2 separate regions of the Homo sapiens genome follow, and region 2 is linked to region 1. Evidence: promoter capture Hi-C in 16 types of primary human blood cells and fetal thymus (Javierre and others, 2016). All regions are on one chromosome and are shown on one strand. Each heading gives the region's core, a stretch centred on a gene start or on the middle of the fragment in contact. The rest is flanking DNA. Distances are from core to core; before and after follow the strand shown. Region 1 holds the start of MMGT1 (membrane magnesium transporter 1). Region 2 overlaps EOLA2-DT (EOLA2 divergent transcript).

Region 1 (6,294 bases), core at 1,307-3,806:
TGCAACCTCCGCCTCCTGGGTTCAAGCGATTCTCCTGCCTCAGCCTCCTGAGTAGCTGGAATTACAGGGGCCCACCACCACGCCCGGCAAATTTTTTGTATTTTTAGTAGAGATGGGGTTTCACCATGTTGGCCAGGCTGGTCTGGAAGAAGGGGTAATTTTACAGGGGATCTGAAAAGGCTAATTTCAATCTGACCATTATTTTAGACAAAACAAAGTTGTAAGATTTTTTTGGTCAACTATCTTTTCTACCTTATTACCTCCCAGGGGCGGAGAAGGAAGCACTTTCCTGTCAACTACAGAGAGATTATCTCCTGGTTCTTCCTGATTGTATAAATAGAACTACATTTGTAAGGAATGCATTATACTGCACTTGACATCCATCAAGTATTGTGTAAAATTCTGGCTTAGAGGTGAAGAAATTGGAAAGGGCCCAGAAAAGAATAATGAACATGACTAAAGGTTTGGAAAATGAGATCCAGGACAAAAATTATATAAGTAAAGTTGAGGAAATATGATTAATTTTAGATGTCTTCTTCTACTTTTTTTTTTTTTTTTTTTTGGTTAGAGAAAGGGTCTCGCTCTGTCACTCAGCCTGTAGTGCAGTGGCATAATCATGGCTCACTGTAGCCTTGAACTCCTGGGATCAAGCAATCCTCCTTCTTTAGCTTCCCAAGTAGCTAGGACTACAAGCATGTGCTACTATGCCCAGCTAATGAGATGTCTTATTTGTTTTTCCAGCTTTGAGGAAGCTCAAGCATATCAGAAAATGTTTACAATCAAAAGGTTGTCAAAATGTGAGAGTACATGCAAGTCCATGGGGATTTTTGAGCCCAATTCAAAAGATTGGAAGGACTCTCTGTAGAGATCCTTTCAAATAGGGATACTGTCCCAATTATTTTCCGGAATTCATTTGTCATTCAACAAGCACTTATTGAATGCTTATCACATGACAGTCAAAGTTTTAGGTACAGAGAAATCTCTGTTCTCTCAGAGCTTACATTCCAGTGGGGAAAGACAGACAGTAAACAGTAACACAACAAACATAAATAGTTAAATTATATAGTATGTTAGAAGGTGATATAAAAAGTAGAACAGAATAAGGGGATCAGGAATAGGAATTTTGCACATTTAAAAGGGGTGGTCAGGATAGGACGCATCTTTGAGCAAAAGCAAATTGATGCAACTAAAACGTAGAATTCTGATTGGGTTAAAGGAAAAGAATGGTGATCATACTTTGCATTTACCTTGTGATATGCAGTTTACAAAGCTTTGCCACTCAGTCAGGGGTCACTGGAGGAACTGGTGCAGAATTTGGAAAAAAAGGATGAATTCCATTTTAGCCATATTACGTTTTAAGTGCCACAGGAAATAAATGCCTATCTGGTAGTCAGAAATGCAGCCCTGGAGCTAAGGAGAGATATTTGTGATAGAGATGTCGATTTGGAATCACTGTAATACCTTTGCTGGCTGAAGCGGTGGGAATGAATGGGTGAGCTCCCCAGGGGACAGCAGAGTGATGAGGTCAAGGGGAGAAGCTCACTATTAAATGTCTACATTTCAGGAGATGAAGACAAAGAAAAATGGGCAGAGGAGTATACATTTTACCCGGATCAGAGATAGAGACAAGGCAAGAAGGCTGCGTTATTAGCATTTTAAAATTTCCTCTTTCATTTCTTCCTTAATGTAAGCTGGTTCTTTTCACGACAAAACACTCCCCCCGCGCTACACCTCTTTTTGCGCGAATCTTTCTCCAGGACCTTAAAATGGTTTACTGAGCACTTCCCGCGAGCCAAGTATTTGGGGTTCCAGATCCTGGGATTTTGTCCTGACACTGCCTCCTCGTTTTAACACCCTTGCCTCCTTCTGCAGTGCCAGTTTCCAGGGAGCTGAAGCACAGGAAAGGCCTACAGAAAACAAAAGGCACAGTTTCACAAAAAGCCAAAACCAACCAACCCACAAAACACAACTGTCAGGGGTCTATATCCAGCACCTACCGCCTTTCCCCAACGCCCCCAGCCCCGCCCCTCGGCCCCACCTCCTCCCGCCCCTCGGCCCCACCTCCTCCCCGCCCCCTCGGTCCCACTCCTCCGCGCCCCCTCGGTCCCACCTCCTCCCCGCCCCTCGGTCCCACCTCCTCCCCGCCCCCTCGGCCCTCACCCACTCTCCGTCCCCTCCGCCCCGCCCCCTACGCCCCACCCATCCTCCCGTAGGCCCCGCCCTCGGCCCCACCTCCTCCCCGCCCCTCGGCCCCACCTCCTCCCCGCCCCTCGGCCCCACCTCCTCCCCGCCCCTCGGCCCCACCCATCCTCCCCGCAGGCCCCGCCACTCGACCGCACCCACCAGGGCCCCCCCCCCCCGGCTACGCCCACCCACCCACCCACTGGCCCCGCCCCTCGGCTACACCCACCCTCGTGCGGGCCCCGCGCGTCTTCCCCACCCCGCCCGTCTGCCTACCCCGCCCCTCGCCCCCACACGTTCTCTACGCAGGCCCCCGTCCCTCTGCCCCACCCTGTTCTCGCCACTGGCCCTGCCCCCATTTGCCGGCGCCCTTCCTCTTCGCTTCCCCGTAGCTCCCGCTTTCGCCTCTTCGTTTATGACTCCGTTGGGCTCCGGCCCTCCTAGAGAGGCCTCCATAGCGCAGGTTCGTGGGTTCTCGCGGACCTTTTTCCGTGTAGCTTTCTGCTTCTTCCCGGCATTCCTGTTTCCGTTTTCTCACAGCCCTCTGGCTTTTCCACCACTGAGACACTTTGCGCTCAGGACTTCAGTGACGTCATCTTTCTGCGGCGCGCGGACACCCGCCGGTGGAAGAAGAAACAGCTCCGCCGTCCTTCGCTTCTTTTGCTGGGCTGCTGCTCCTTCGGCATCATGGCGCCGTCGCTGTGGAAGGGGCTGGTGGGCATCGGTCTCTTTGCCCTAGCCCACGCCGCCTTTTCCGCTGCGCAGCGTAAGTGCCTGGGGCACGGGGACCGCTTCGGTGTGGAACCCTAGGGGCGGTGTGTGGGCGCACTTCTAAGGGACCATCGGACCGAGTGTCAGATTAATGGTCCTTTGAGACCTTACAGTTTGGGGTGACTAAGAAAATCAGTGCAGGAGTTCCCAGTGGAAGGTTCGGAGTTTGAATTTGGAGAGAGTGTGGCACCTGAAATTGCAGGAAGGTTGGAAGGAGGTGTCTGGGAGAGGGTTCAGAATAGGAGTCTCCAGGAATCCAGGACAAGTGATGTCAGATCCAGCATGGGGCAGATCAGGCACAGTTGTGAGATTGAGGACTCTGGTTGCTCATGGTCCCACGACAACCAAGTGGACAACATCTTGGGCACTCTTGGGCTGTCCAGGCAGAGACTGAGTAGTTAAGTGACCGATTGCCTCAGGGAGGCACTGTGGTACAGGAGAAAGAGCACTGGACTGGGAGTCTAAAGGACTGGTTGTTAAAAACTTGCATTACCGCTACATCTGTGTGACGTTGGGCAAAAGATTTGTGCTACACTGCGTTATGAAATTCAGTTTTGGGTCGCTGTTTGAAATTGCGCTGTGTTTAGGTGCTAGAGATACAGTGATGCCCTGAGCCAGTTCAAAGTCTAAAGGAAAACAAGTGGATCAAGAAGTAGTTACAATAAAGTGATATGCTAAAAGTATATAAGGATGCATGGAAGCAGGGACAGTCATATTTTGGGGGAACTGGGAGGTTAAGGAAAGTATCCTAGATCCTTGCTGCTTACAGTGTGATCAACAGACCAGCATCATGAGCACCACCTGGCAGGTAATTAGAAGATACTCAGGCCAGACCTGTTCAATCAGAATCTGGGTTTTAATAAGATCCCAGGGTGATTTGTATGCGCATTAGTTTGAGAAACACTGTCCTGGAAGAGATTAGGATACACTGGAGTACTGTGTCATTTTCTACAGTAAGCTTTAACTGTAGAATTATATGATTGTGGGGCGAGAAGGGCCTTTGGAGTTCACTGAAGTCCAACCCCTTCATTTTACAGATGAGGAAATTCCTGGTTAAAGGTAGTGTTAGAAGCAGGCGAGGCTTCATGCAAACTAGCAAGCTAGCTAGGAATTGAACCAGATAGGAGATTAGTCAAAATCGATTTTTGGTGTTGGTTTGATGTTTCTTTTACACTTGTCTTTATGACAGAGCTGTAGGTTAAAACTTAAGAAATGTCTCTAAACACATTCTTCTTCAAGAGTCAATACACATGCACTCAAAAACAGTTTGAATTATTTAGTCCAAAGTACGTTATTAAATAGGGATTGTCCTAGGTTCATCTAGAATTAAGATTTTTGTATTTTATGTTTTGGGTGATGAGAATGCCTTGTGGATTTGCCACTGCAGTGAGACCTCTTTATATATAATGCTCATGTTAGGGAGAGAGTAATATGTAACTTTAAGACTAAGTGTGTCATGTCAGACTGTAGCAGCAGATAGCACAATGTGGTGCTGTGGCATGCTCATCTTTGCTGTAATGAACTTTGTTACAGTAGGGCACCAGTCATTTACTGTATCTTGTTTAATCCTCACCTCACATTATTCTCATTTTACTGTTGTGGAAATTCAGGTAATGAAAAAAATAGATACTGTATTTCTTTGATTCTAAGACACCCACCATTTTAACACTCTGAACTTGAGATATGTATTATGATCACTGCGGGCTTCTTTAATTAAATGAAATTATAGTAAATTGAAGAGCTGGCACTGATTTAGGCTTACCAGTTTCCAAATCCTGATCCTTTTCTTTTATCCCTTGCTGCCTCCTGAGGTTAAGGCAGCAGCAGCGGAATTATAATTAACTAGTAGAGGCAGAAATTGATTTCATGGAATTCCTATTCCACCACTGCCCCAGCGTATCCTCTCAGGAGAACCATTTCCATACCAGTATTATTTTGTCCATACTGTGTGGTTGGTGGTGGTGCTATTTCAGAGTTGAGATTTTCTGTAGACTTTACTTTTTAAATAATTGTGATTTCTTTGGCGAGTTAGTGAAAGTAACGGTTTTGAGAAGTTTCTAGTATTTCTATAATAATGAAAGAAAAATTATACTAAGGTATTTCTGCCTCATACTTGCTCACTTGTCACTCTTACCCATTTTATAAGGTGACAAAGCAGGTCATGATGAAAATAAAATAGTTGACTAAGATAGAGCTGACTACCTTAGAAGATAGAAGGTTTTGAGGAATCCAGGATTAGCATTACTTTATGTAGCATATAAGTCAGCCACTTCTTTTTTTATTTTTTATTTTATTTTATTATTATTATACTTTAAGTTTTAGGGTACATGTGCACAATGTGCAGGTTAGTTACATATGTATACATGTGCCATGCTGGTGTGCTGCACATAAGTCAGCCACTTCTTTGGTATATTGATTTGCTTCATTTTAAGAAAGAAAAATGAACTACAGTTTCCTTAATGGTATGCTTCTGGTTTATAGATCGTTCTTATATGCGATTAACAGAAAAAGAAGATGAATCACTGCCAATAGATGTAAGTTGGTCATTTATATTCCGTTACATGTATGTTTAAAATCAGCCACATAGCTTGTAATAATTTTTTTTTTACTGGTTTTTCGTAAAATTTTTCAGACATGAAATAAAATCTGATCTCCACTTTTCTTTTCTTTTCTTTTCTCTTTTGAGACGGAGTCTCACTCTGTCACCCAGGCTGGAGTGCAGTGGCCTGATCTCAGCTCACTGCAAGCTCCGCCTCCCAGGTTCACACCATTCTCCTGCCACAGCCTCCCGAGTAGCTGGGACTACAGGTGCCCACCACCATGCCCGGCTAATTTTTTGTATTTTTAGTAGAGACAGGGTTTCACCGTGTTAGCCACGATGGTCTCGATCTCCTGACCTCATGATCCGCCTGCCTTGGCCTCCCAAAGTGCTGGGATTACAGGAGTGAGCCACCGCGCCTGGCCTGTGATCTCCACTTTTCATCACTCATAAAGCTCAAAGATTTGGAAAGGTTTCTCTATTTGGTTTCTAGAGCTGTAGTCGAAATAGTCTTTCTCGAAGATGCTCTGTCCATAGTATGGGATGGACTTAAAAAGTTGATTATTTAGCTTTATTTCTTAGAAAAGTTCATTTTTATGTAAGGGAAATAAAGCCAACAGTACATTGTTTAGGGACATACATAGGTGGTAAAATGAAAGTGGTTTTAGTTTTTTTTCTTTTTTTTGAGACAATGTTTTGCTCTTGTTGCCCAGGCTGGAATGCAGTGACGCGATCTGGGCTCGTTGCAACCTCTGCCTCCCAGGTTCAAGCAATTATCCTTCCTCAGCCTCCCAAGTAGCTGG
Region 2 (6,559 bases), core at 1,412-3,911, about 14 Mb before region 1:
ATTTTTTTTTAATTTGCTGGGTGTGCTGGTGCATGCCTGTGGTCCTAGCTACTAAGGAGGCGGAGGTGGGAGGATCACTTGAGCCCGGAAGTCAAGGCTGCAGAAAGCTATGATCACATCACTGCACTCCAGCCTGAGTGACAAAGTGAAACCCTGTTTCAAAAAAAAAGTTTAAGAACTTTTAAATGTATGCTTCATTTTCTCTTCTTTTTAAAATTTAGGCTTGCTTATATAGCCAATTGCTAAAAATCTGTAACTAAAACCAAGACTACAGTAGCTCAATGCATAGAAGTTAAAGATAGATAAGGCAATTTTGTAACCTCGCCTTTTACTTTCTGTTTGTTGGCTTTTACATTACTTCAAAATTGTTAAGGAGTAATAAATGCCTGTCCACGTCCATTCCTGTCTGGCCTAGAACATTTAAACTGTCTATAAGTCTTTTGGCTGTAAGTCTCTTGGCCATAGAGATCCTACCAAGGGACAGGATGGACCTGGGGCAGGCAGCCAAACCACCTCCACAATGCTATGGGACAAAATAAAAGTTTGTCCATTGATGTTGCCTCTGGCAAATCCTGGCCAGAAGGAAAGAATGTAAACCAAAAATAAAATTCTAAGCTCCCCAACCACCTGAATGGACCCCTCCTCTTGGCCAAGGGCATTCCAAAGTTAACCTGAAAAACTAGTTCAGGACATGATGAGGAAGGGGGAGTCGGACATGCCTCATTACCATCAACATGAACACTGTCCTTAAGACTGATACAATAGACTCTTTAAGTCTAATAAGAAACATTTACAATCTATTCTCTCTGAAGCCTGCTACCTGGAGGTTTCATCTGCATGATAAAACTGTGGTCTCCACAACTCCTTATCGTAAACCAGACATTCCCTTCTAATGATTCCAGGTCTTTAGATAATAACTCAACCAATTATTAATACCAGTCAGAAAATTTCTGAACCTGCCTATGACCTGGAAGTCCTCCAACTTCCATTTGTCCTGCTTTTCCAGACCAAACGAATGTACATCTCACATGTATCAGTTGATGTCTTATATCTCCCTAAAAACCAAACTGTGGCCTGACCACCTTGGGCATGTCACCAGGACCTTCTTAGGCAGTGTCACAGGCATGTCCTTAGCCTTGGCAAAATAAACTTCTAAATTGATTGAAAAAAATTTTTAGGTTTTCTGATAAGATTGTCTGATTCCAAGGGAGAGGTGTGAGAATTATACATGAAAGCTTTTGTTCCCAATTGGACAGAAGGATGCAAGCGACTTTTGATCACCTGCTCTACCATGAATAGTGCCACGGGCTTCACAACAACCACGAGAGGTATGTATTTTATGTCCACTTTAGAGATGAAGAAGACTCAAGAACAAGAAGATTACTAGTTTCAGTTACAAATATATGATTCCAGCATTTCTAGAATGAAAAACTCAGGAAATATCTGAGAGAGAAAGGTCTATAAAGAGCACTAAATCCAGCCCCTTTATTTTACAAACTGGGAAAATCTGTCCCAGGAGGGAAAGGGACTAGTTCAAGACTACCCAACTACTCAAAGAGAAGGAACTCAAATTTCAATCTCTTGAGTGCCACCCAGTGGACAATGTACCATGACCGATATTTACAGACAAGTTACCAAAAAACTTTACAGAATAGGGGGAAAGAGCACTCATTAAACTGGGAATTGGAAGAACTGGATCCTGTCCCAGTTTTGCCAAGTAAGGTTAGCTTCCCCTCTCTTGGCTTTAATTTCCCCATCTGTGTAATATGAAGTGACAACAGGAAAACCAACATGAGGCAGCAAGTCTTGGATCCAAGACAGAGACAGATCCAGGTTTTGTGGGGCTTGAAGCTTGTAACATCTGGGGCCTTCTTTAAGTATAAGAATGCAAAATTACCAGTATAAAATTGGGAACAAAAGCAAATATTTAAAGTGAGAAAAAAAAAACAAAAGAACACACATTTGAAAACGTTGACAAATGTTAGAAACATCTGAAAATTTAGAAAAAAATAACATAAATAGCTACTTATCTTTAGTACTTAACTGCCTCATGCACTTCTATAGTATGTTATTCCTGCTTTTCTTGTTTGTTATAGTTGGAAACACAGGATTCAGCATATAGTTATAATCACAACCAAGATTTATTACAGCAATGTAGTTAGGGCACACAGCCAGATCACAAGCAGAAAAGACAGGCAAAGTTTGGAGGAGCCCATGCACAGACTTCCTTATGCTCTCTCCCTCCCATGAGGGGCCACACAGAGCACATGCTTCTCTCGGCAACAAATATGCAGTGGCACGTGTGATGTTTCTGGCCAGAGAAGCCCAGACTCATTGCCCACACTTTACACTGGTGTTTGGTAACAGAGACTTCCTCTGCCTAGCATGCACCAAAATTCCAGACTCCCAGAAGGAAAGCAGATATTCAGCATAAACTACGTTTTCTGTATCAACAGTCAAGGCACAGTGAGCCATCTTATCAGTTAACTGTTGACTAGGGAAATTCTGAGAGTCAAGTTTCCAGATGCCAGCAGGGAGCGTAACTTCCAAGCAGGTCTTTCTAAGGGTAGCAGTCACAGGAACTATGACTGTGCCCTTTCTAGCTCAGGACACATTTGATGCTGTGACTGTTTGGGAATTCAGTCCCGACCAATTTAAGAGGTTGTGTTTCTTAGCTGTCTCTGGCTCCTGGTTTGCGCAGTTTAATTCTGTGCCTGCCCAGCAAAACTCTTCTGCATACTACTCAATGTTTCTAGTCCTTCTACAGGTCCATGTCCTACAATCACAGGAATTCTGAAAAATGCCATTTCACAAAATCCCCTTCCAAATGTGCAAATAAATGTATCTTGTATTTACAATTGCGTACACTGCACGCTGGGTATATTTCTGACAAGAGAGCACTTTTGCTTTTCAGTGAAAATGGAATCCTTCACTTACAATTTTACACATCTGATTGATGACTGGAAGATTTTTCCACAGACTAGCTTCTGGTGCTGTACATTGTGAATCTTGGTTCTCCTCCACTGCCAACATACCCCTGATGCCAAGTGCTGCAGGTCACAGTGACATTACAATGTACCCTTCAGCCTCACCCCTCTTGTCCTAACACTGGATGCATCAGCACAGTGAGCAGAAGTATTCCTGCAAGCTATTCCAATAAAGGGCAGCTGGCAAAAACTGGGAAATATATGGAATTGCCTGTGGACTCCTGAAAGATATCTCAAAAATATATCCTAAACTAAATGAATCCCAACTTAATGTCCCCTTAGTTGAATTCTCAATATGACCATGGTCATTGCATTGCTACCCAACACACAGGCAAGAGGGATAGAGACAGCATAGTGGAAAGAAAGATTCCCTGAACCAACTGTGGTTAAAATATCTTTTGTAGATTTTCCAAACCATACAACTGTAGGACCATAATGCTAGGGCTCCTTCCAGGGCTGTTCAAGCAAGAGACACTGAAGCTTTATCTTTAACTTCATTCACTTCACTGTGTACTTGCATCGGGTCTAGAGACTTACAGAAGAGAAACCATGAGAAAAGACATAGGGCCCAGATAATGAGACAGAAGGGAAGAGAGTACACAATCAGAAACAAGGACAAGGAAATTAAGACAAATTCCAGATAAACAAAGTGCAAAATTTACCTGGGAATGTGTGACCTGCATGTGACCTAGCATGGGAGAGGCAGCCTGAAGAGTTATTCTTCCTAAGCTGGGGCACAACACAAGGACAAAAACAACAGAGCTGGCTTTATTCCATGGCTGAGCCAGGAGGACATACCATGAGATTCTGTCGATATTGAGTGGACAGGAAGAGGACTAGTTCAGAGATGTCAGGCTTCTTAGACCACAGACAGAGAGGTTTTGCTAGGCAGGCACAGAATCAAACTGGGCAAACCAGGAGCCAGAGACAGCTAAGAAACACAACCTCTTAAATTGGTCAGGACTGAATTCCCAAACAGTCACAGCATCAAATGTGTCCTGAGCTAGAAAGGGCCTTCTAGTTACCATATTCCACCATTCCACCACCATCTTGTGGTGTAGAGATCAAATCACCATAGTCAGGGTCAAAAAGACTGGTTGAGTCCTGCCTTGATCACTTACAGTACAAGCTGAGGCAAATCACTTCCCCTCTCTGAATTTCAGTGTCCTCATCTCTCGAGTGAAGAGAATGATAATGTGGTCCCAGGAGCCTGTGAAGAATTCAGTGTCACATTAGGATGAGAAAAAGGACCTGGCGAGGCATTCCTGCTGACCCAGAACACAACACAAGAATCTAAGGGCAAGCACGCTGTAAGCTTCAAAGCCTTGCAGGAATGTTACCTTTCCTTTACTACAGAGGAGGCACCAGCAGGGGAACTCTCTTGGCACACAGTTGGAGTCCTCAGAAAATGTTGATTCTCATGGACTCTTCTCTGTCTCTAATGTACAAGCAGTTTCAAGCAGGGGTCTTGTTGGTATTTTAGGGGGAAATTGATGGTATTACTTTGGGATTAATTTGATAAGACTAACGGTCATTTTACAAAGAGAAAGTCATCCCATAAGTAGTATGGCTGGGAAGGGAGAAGGAAGGAGGGCGCAGGGGACCTGAGCAAGCATTGAAATATCTAAACGAGAGGTAAGAAAGCAAGGGCAGTTATGCTGTGATTGAAGATGACACTTGCACCCCTATCATCTCCCCACCAACCTCTGGCCCAGATGACTTACTGGCCACAAGTGAATCAATGAATTCTTCTCAGGAAGAAAACCAGTTTGCCTTTTTAAAATGCTGACAGTGAAACCCAAGTGAGGAAACTCACCTGCTGCACCCAGCGTGCAGCCCACACTCCTTCAGTGGTCCTTTAGGAGTTGGAACCAATCTAGTTTCCCAGCCTCTTCTCTCCCATGACTTCACTCTACGAATGCGTCTGCTCCAGCCACGAACCTTCTCTGGGCTCCTTGAATGTACCTAACCCTTTCAGACTGTCCTTCCCCCATTTCCCACCTAACAAAACCCTTTTGACCTTCAAGGCCCAGCTCAAACACCCCCTCCTCTACGAAGCGTCCCCCAGCCCCCTGCCCAGAGTAGTTCCTTCCTCTTCACATTCACCTAACTCCTCTTGCCTGTAAGATGCCCCCTTACAAGTAACAAAGACATGAGTGTGCACCTACCTTCAAGGAGCCTCTTTCAGGAGGGGGCCTGGCTTCCATCTGCTTTCTGACATACTTTGCATGGAGATCTGCCCTCTCCTGCCAGGCTGTGCTCACACCAATACCAAGAGATCACGAGACGCCCTGCCAGCAAATGCCCTGGAAGCACATCCCCTTCATGCCCCTGGCAGTCATCTAATGTACACACAAGATCAAAGCAGCTCTCAGGTGGCCTGTTGCAGGGCACAGCACAGTTCTGCCTATGCCAAGGCAGATGCTGGGCCCTTCCCTATTGTGTTCAGCACACACCCATTCTCCAGGGCACCTTTTCTGGGCATTAATTTATCCAGTCAGTTAATATGGATTGCACAGCCTGCTATATGCCAGGTACCATGTGGACCCCATCACCCGTACCCAATGCAGGCCCCTCTAGTGGGCAACCCTTGCTCCACACCTCCCTGTTGGGCTGCTCGAGACTGTCAGGTCGGGCTCAACCTGCTCTCCAGCCCTGTTTCCTTCCTATCCCTTTCCTGAGTGTTAGTTAGCCCCAGTAAATCTTTGGCCCTGCCAACTCCCTCTCATGGTCTGCTTCCTGGAGGACACAATCTGAGACAGTGGGTTCCAGAGTGGTCTGAGAAAGCAGGTGGTAAAATGGGGTCTTGGTACAGGATTGCCCCGCATCTGCCCAACTGGCAACAAGGTTCCCATCTTCGGGAGTAGGTGGCACGCAGGCGGCTCCAGGCACAAGATGGCAGGCTAGTTGCCAGACCTTTGGTGTTAGAACTTTTGCTGGGATGGCCGGCTTGTGGAGAGGAAGTTCCTGGCAGGTGAGGAGATCCAGGCAGGGCGGATGCCTGGAAATGAAAACTCAGAGAACAGACAGTGGTGAGTATGTTTCCTGGATGACCCACAGGGGATTAATGAGAGACCAAGAGCAATTAACAAACATCTAAAAATTAACCAGAAACACTGGAGTCTTCCTGGTGGTTTACAAAGTAGCCCCCGATCCAGGCAATGGGCGAGCAGCAAAGTCTGAAGAACAAACCCAGGACTTGCTAAGGTGGCTGAACTCCAAAGACAGGTGAACGCTCAGCCAAGGCAGGTCTGTCATGCCAATGACACCAGCCCTGTTGGGAAAACCTGCGTCCCTGATACATGGAACAGGCACATCTAGAAGGTCTCTGAATATCTGGTCTCCCCAGATGCCCTTGAAACTTCTGAGCCCGCAGCATCAGCCCACCCCCTCCCATGAAGCGCTGCAGGCACCCTATCCCGAAGGAGAAATAAATAACACAAGAATTTTCCCCACAGGTGTCCTCCCTCCCAGGAGTGGCCCTCACCTTATCACTGGCTGCCAGGTAGGGTGACCAACAGTCCCAGTTTGCTGAGTGAATTGCAGTGCTAAAAGCCGGCAAGTCCCAGGGA

The links. Contacts are between HindIII fragments. The CHiCAGO score rates a contact against its expected background, and 5 or more counts as called.
Region 2: a contact is called between a fragment that was not itself captured here and the fragment with the promoter of MMGT1 in region 1, in 1 of 17 cell types (total B cells). The highest score is 5.3, in total B cells.

What each region holds. Positions count from the first base shown.
Region 1 is chrX:135,970,250-135,976,543 of GRCh38, reverse strand. MMGT1 (membrane magnesium transporter 1) reads left to right here and starts at 2,556. Exons shown (of 4, transcript NM_173470.3): 1 at 2,556-2,947; 2 at 5,434-5,486. The coding sequence starts at 2,869. It also overlaps a transcript of SLC9A6 not described here. RefSeq lists a silencer at 2,358-2,467 and an enhancer at 2,478-3,007. The HindIII fragment of the contact is 2,640 bases long and covers 1,273-3,912 here.
Region 2 is chrX:149,945,944-149,952,502 of GRCh38, reverse strand. It overlaps EOLA2-DT (EOLA2 divergent transcript), which reads right to left. Exons shown (of 12, transcript NR_027456.1): 6 at 5,156-6,559; 7 at 4,109-4,197. Among named protein-coding and RNA genes, the nearest start is that of EOLA2-DT, 11 kb to the right of the region's middle. The HindIII fragment of the contact is 1,616 bases long and covers 1,854-3,469 here.